Linked DNA regions of Homo sapiens: region 2 is linked to region 1. The links are contacts of gene promoters, found by promoter capture Hi-C in blood cells and fetal thymus (Javierre and others, 2016). All regions are on one chromosome and are shown on one strand. The core of a region is centred on a gene start or on the middle of the fragment in contact, and the rest is flanking DNA. Distances in the headings are between cores, read along the strand shown. Region 1 holds the start of PRR9 (proline rich 9). Region 2 holds the start of LCE1F (late cornified envelope 1F).

Region 1 (2,833 bases), core at 203-2,702:
TAACATTAGGTATATCTCCAAATGCTATCCCTCCCCTCTCCTCCCACCCCACAACAGGCCCCTGTGTGTGAGAACATAACTTTAAATTAAGGAGAAAGGAAGGGAACATCATCATATTTAAAGACCCTTGAATTTGGTCAACTTCAGCAAACACAGAACCACCATTTTAAGGAAATGGGGGCTTCTTTCAAAGTAAATCTTTTCCCATTTTCAATTAAATGAGATTTTCCTCTACTCCCAGCTCTCCCACATCCACCTTCTGTATTCCTTCATTAATACATTTACCCCATCAATAATCATTTGTCTTCCATCATCTTCCACTTACTATACCTATGGCATAGTACCTATCCTCTAGGAACTTATAACCCAGGAAAAAATAAGATCTATATATAAATATCTGGAAAGTCCTAATTTCAATAGTAAATGTCATATGAATAATATAAATAATAGATACCATGGGAGTGCATAAAGAGGTGGATTCATTTCTGGTTTAGAGTAATCAGGAAAGGCTCTCAGAGGGTGGTAGACATGAGTAAAGCTTTGCAGAATGCTTAGGATTCCCACAGGCACAGGGAGAACACACCAGGTAAAAACTAACAGCCCAAACTAGAAAGTAGAGGTAGAGAAAACTGGGTGTGTTTGCTTTGAAACTTTTCCTTTCATCCCCTGACTTTTATTGACTTGAGTTCTAAGAAAACGTTTTCCAGAAGGCAAAGAGACAAGTTAACTTTGTTCCAGCCTGTTCTCCTGGTCACTATGAAAACTCTGTGAGTAACTCCACTTTCATAAGGGTGTCATAAATCAAGGTTGAGAAGATGAAGATTGTCTGCCTTCTCCTTCCTCTCTCTTCCCCTTCACCCCACTTCACAACCCAAGAGTAACAAATGAACCGCAATTTCCCTCAAGACCATCACGCAGGAAAATCACTCTCTTCAGCAGGCTGAAAGCCCTTTGTTCGCTTGGAACCACAGGACGAGCCTTCATCCTTGCATCTGAAGGGTGACTTTCTAGGCTTGATGAAGAAGTGTCTGCAACAGGCCATACAAGCCCTTGACCCAGAGAGGCCCCAGGCCTTAGGCATAAAATCTTCCCATTGGTGAAGATGAGATGAGCAAGGTGGATCTTATCTCTCACCACATCCTGTACCAGTTTGGGCAGACAAGGAATCCTGGTTGAACAGACTGAGATAACACTTTATGAACATTCTTTTCCTGCTGCCTCTGATGAGAGAGATCTGAGAGAAGCCCCTCCCTGCTGAGGTCTGGTGAGGACCCACAGGCCAAAATGCAGTCTGATTAACAGGCATCCCAAGCAGTGACTCAAACCATCGGCAATTTCAGAGGAAGCTTGTTATGGTGACTCCACAATTAATACCACAGCCCATGTGACCAGTCAGTCCCGCGGGAGGCTGGACTAAGCAACATATAAAAGTCCCACCTTGCTGGGCTTCACAGTCCACAGCCTTTGTTGAGTCTTGTTGAAGATCAGGTAAGTGGGGCATCTGTGCCCTCTCTCTCCCTGTTACTCTGTCTTTAGGCGGCCGCTGTTCTGTTCCTCTTATGGACTGTACTTTCTACTGATTTTTTAAGTGGTTTGCCATTTCTTGGGCCTCACAAACTATCCTGTATATTCTATCCAGACTAGAATTTGCCTATCTAGTCTAGTCTCTTGCACCTGATTTTCAAAAGGATTCGTAGACTAGAAGAGAAGGGAAAAAAACCTGTGGTAAGACTGGGGTTTGGAGCTATGGATGTCTAGACAGAGGCCAGGAGAACACTCCCACTTTGGAGACAGGTGCCACAGGGAGCTGCAGCCAGGATAGAAAAGAGAAAGAGATAAAAAGCAGCCAAGAAATTAGTTCTTACTTCCACTCCTCATTCCATTCCATTAGTTCTTCCATCCACTCCTCATTCCTCTTTCTCAACCCTTCATTCCCCAGTTCCCATGCTGATATTTTTAATACAGATAATTTCGAATCTTGTGTTTTTTTCAGGCTCTGCAAATCACCCTAGGATGTCCTTCAGTGAGCAGCAGTGCAAGCAGCCATGTGTGCCCCCTCCATGCCTCCCAAAGACCCAGGAGCAGTGCCAAGCAAAGGCTGAGGAGGTGTGCCTCCCCACATGCCAGCACCCCTGCCAAGATAAGTGTCTAGTGCAGGCCCAGGAGGTATGTCTTTCTCAGTGCCAGGAATCAAGTCAAGAAAAATGCCCACAGCAAGGCCAAGAGCCATACCTACCTCCATGCCAAGACCAGTGTCCACCTCAGTGTGCAGAGCCATGCCAGGAGCTATTCCAGACAAAATGTGTGGAGGTTTGCCCACAGAAAGTCCAGGAGAAGTGCTCATCCCCTGGCAAGGGAAAGTAGCTGCTCATATGTCATCTGGGTTCAAGAAGATGGCCAGCAGATGAAACCCTGACCCCAGCCCACGCTCTGGTGACCTTCTTCTGTGGGTACCTCTGTGTGCAATGTACCTTCTTGCCTCCTGGCTTCCTTAGCATTCCAGGACTTGGTCTGTGTCTCTGAAGACAGTTCTTTCTGTATTTCATCACCCTCTGTGAATAAGCATTGTTCTCAGCAGTCTGATGGAAGGTCTCAAATGTAGGAATGGTGTGGTTGTCAGGGAAGACCACAGAAGCCTAGCACAGCTTCCTTGGTGCAAAAATTCACCCAGCTCTGGGTGTGTAACAGCCAAGGATACCTTCATTCATCTTTCAGAGTTTCAGGCTCTCAAATAAGCCTCAAAACAAACTGAATTCTGATGGACTTTCCACTTATCACCACCACCACCACCTCCACCACCACCACCACCACAGGTGTTGAGACAAAGCGGCTT
Region 2 (2,833 bases), core at 187-2,686, 440 kb before region 1:
GAATGTTCTTCCATTTGTTTGTATCCTCTTTTATTTCCTTGGGCAGTGGTTTGTAGTTCTCTTCCTGAAACTCTAAATACATGGGTGCTAGAATGTTTGATATTATTCCACTGGTCACTGATCATCTGTTCATTTTTTTAATATTTTTCCCTTTCTTCAGTTCAGTTTGAACAATTTCTTCAAGTTCACCGATCTGTTCTTCTGCAACTTATAATCTGCTAAAACCATCCAATAATTCTTTGATGTTATATGTAATTTTGACCATATTTATTTTTCAAATATTGGTTTTTTATTGTTAGATTTTGCATTTGGTTAGTTTTGAGCATGGGAAACTGGGAAATTAAACCCAGGAAATGTGTATTGCAACAAAGCCAATAATTTCAAATTAAATATTGACTATGTCTATTCTTGTCTATACCAACTACACCACTCCAAGTCACAGTTCAAAGCCACCTCATTGGCTGTTCTCTTCTCTTCACCCTTCTCATCTTTATTTTACCTCATCCCTTCAGCTTTTCCTCAGGAAACTGCAAATTCTTTTATGCTATAATTTGGGGCAATATACATCCTTTAGTCCTCTTTTCTTATACCCACTCTGGATCTACCTTCAGAAAGCCCTATTCACTGAGGTACGTAGGAGGAAAAAAAAATGGCCTTTAGTTTTAATAAGAGCCACCTAACTTAAAAGGCACCTGTGACTTTAAAAATTCCCAATGTCCATTAAAATCTCAGGTTTGCCTCTATTTTTCTTTCTATCTATCTATCTATCTATCTATCTATCTATCTATCTACCTATTCATCCATTTCCTAATTATAACCACATGCCACATACTATCTCAGCTACTTCCCCTTTGTTATCTTAATTAATTTGTAAATCCTGCAGAAAAGATATTTCTCTTATTATCTTCATTTAAAACATCAGAAAGCCAATGGCCAAAAATATTGAATACTTTGCCAGGGTCTCCAAGGCCTCTTTTCTCGACTTCTATGATGCACACACATGCCCATGTGCACATGGACAAACCCCATAATGCAGGCATGTGGATTTTTAACCAAGCTATATGGACCCAAAGGTCTAGATGGAAAATTAGTATCTAGAATAGAAGGAAAAATGAGTTGTTTGTGCAGAATTCATAAGTGTGACTACAAGACTGTGAAGAGAGCCATCTTCATAGGAAATAGGCCACGGAGGACTCCAGGAACCATGATGTCCATTTTCACCCACCACAAGCCCCCATTTCCACCAAGCTCTTTCCTAGCTGACAGCAGCTCCCCTGAACACCAATGAAGGACGGTATATGCAGAACTGCCAGTCACCACTCGTCACAAGACCTATGTGGGTGTCGGGAGGCAGGTCCTCTCATGCCCAGGCTCTGTCTCACCGCTGGAGGCAGCACCCAAGGACAGAATAAAAGGGCTCAGGGCCAGAGCATCCCATCCACTCACCTCCTGCGGTGCTGAAGAACCCTGTGCTGCCTGTGATCCTGGTAAGTGTGCCCTGGAAAAAGGAGCAGGGGCTTCCACAGAGGGATGCCCAGGCCAGGGAAGGAGGGGATGGATACTCAGACCAGGGCAGGAGTAGAGTCTAGGCAGGGCCTCAGGGGCCTGGAATTGTGATTGGCAAGGAATGGGGTGGGGGCAGAAAATTGGAAAGAGGAGGTAGAGGGGTGGGGTGGAGTGAGAGAGATTAAGAAGAACTGGTAAGATCTGAAGGGCTGTATGACACAGATTTAGAGGAACCAAATTGTTTTCAGTTGCTCAGTGTGTTTCTCTGGTTTTAGAGAATAAACACATTGGCCACTGGATGTTGCTAGAGTGGGCTGCATAGTGGGAATATAATTTTGGAAATACAGACATACTCACTTTTAGAAAAGATATGCTGAGAACACTGCTACTTAGAGGAAGAAAGGATCAAAGACACCTGTGGATCTTGTTAGATGCCAACAAGAAGATCTGTAGTGGAAAACTGAGTGCACACTGGAGTTTAAAAGCCATGTGACAGTGCCTGGGGACAGGCCTGGGGAGGCAGGATGTGCTAAAGGGCAGAGCCCAGGATGGGAACCAGGGGACCCCGGAACAAATGTGACTGTTAATGAATAACTTTGGGCCAGTGAAGTTACCTCTTTTGGCTTCAGTTTCTTTATTTATATATTGAGTTGGTTGGAACAAATTGACTCCAACATCCTTTGCGGTTATAGTTTTCTCTATTTCTGCAAACTGAAATATATCAGTTCTTCCAATAGAAATTTATTTTGATTTTTCCTTAAAGAGATTTTCATCTCTAAACTGGTCTCAACATTGAACATTTTCAGAATTCTTGGTGATGTGATAGAATGAATGCTGGCCCGGAGCCAATTTATTTCCTGGACTTCTCTCCCACACTTAGGAGCTTTTAATGAGCAGAAACTTTATTTACATATTTGGAGATTATATATTGCATGACAACATCTCAAATAAGGTTTGAAATGAGAATCCATGAATGAAAGCACTTGGTAAACATTGAGAGTGATAAAAACATTAGAGGTGATTTTCCTATGTTTGATATAAGGCTTTCAAAATGAAGGATCTAGAAATAATGCAGAAAGGACAAGAATAGGCAGGGGTGTCCTCTGCCTCCATCTAACTTGCTGTCTGACCCTCCTTCAGCTCCTGAACACCCGCCACCGAGATGTCTTGCCAGCAGAGCCAGCAGCAGTGCCAGCCCCCTCCCAAGTGCACTCCCAAGTGCCCTCCCAAGTGCCCCACACCGAAGTGCCCCCCAAAGTGTCCCCCTAAGTGCCCTCCTGTCTCTTCCTGCTGCAGCGTCAGCTCCGGAGGCTGCTGTGGCTCCAGC

What was found. Contacts are between HindIII fragments. The CHiCAGO score rates a contact against its expected background, and 5 or more counts as called.
Region 2: the fragment with the promoter of LCE1F here is called in contact with the fragment with the promoter of PRR9 in region 1 in 2 of 17 cell types (M2 macrophages and M0 macrophages); the score reaches 5.5 in M2 macrophages.

What each region holds. Positions count from the first base shown.
Region 1 is chr1:153,216,132-153,218,964 of GRCh38, forward strand. It overlaps PRR9 (proline rich 9), which reads left to right and starts at 1,453. Exons shown (of 2, transcript NM_001195571.2): 1 at 1,453-1,488; 2 at 1,994-2,833. The coding sequence starts at 2,014. The coding sequence ends at 2,364. The HindIII fragment of the contact is 3,256 bases long and covers 1,345-2,833 here.
Region 2 is chr1:152,773,704-152,776,536 of GRCh38, forward strand. It overlaps LCE1F (late cornified envelope 1F), which reads left to right and starts at 1,437. Exons shown (of 2, transcript NM_178354.3): 1 at 1,437-1,487; 2 at 2,647-2,833. The coding sequence starts at 2,669. The HindIII fragment of the contact is 9,364 bases long and covers 1-2,833 here.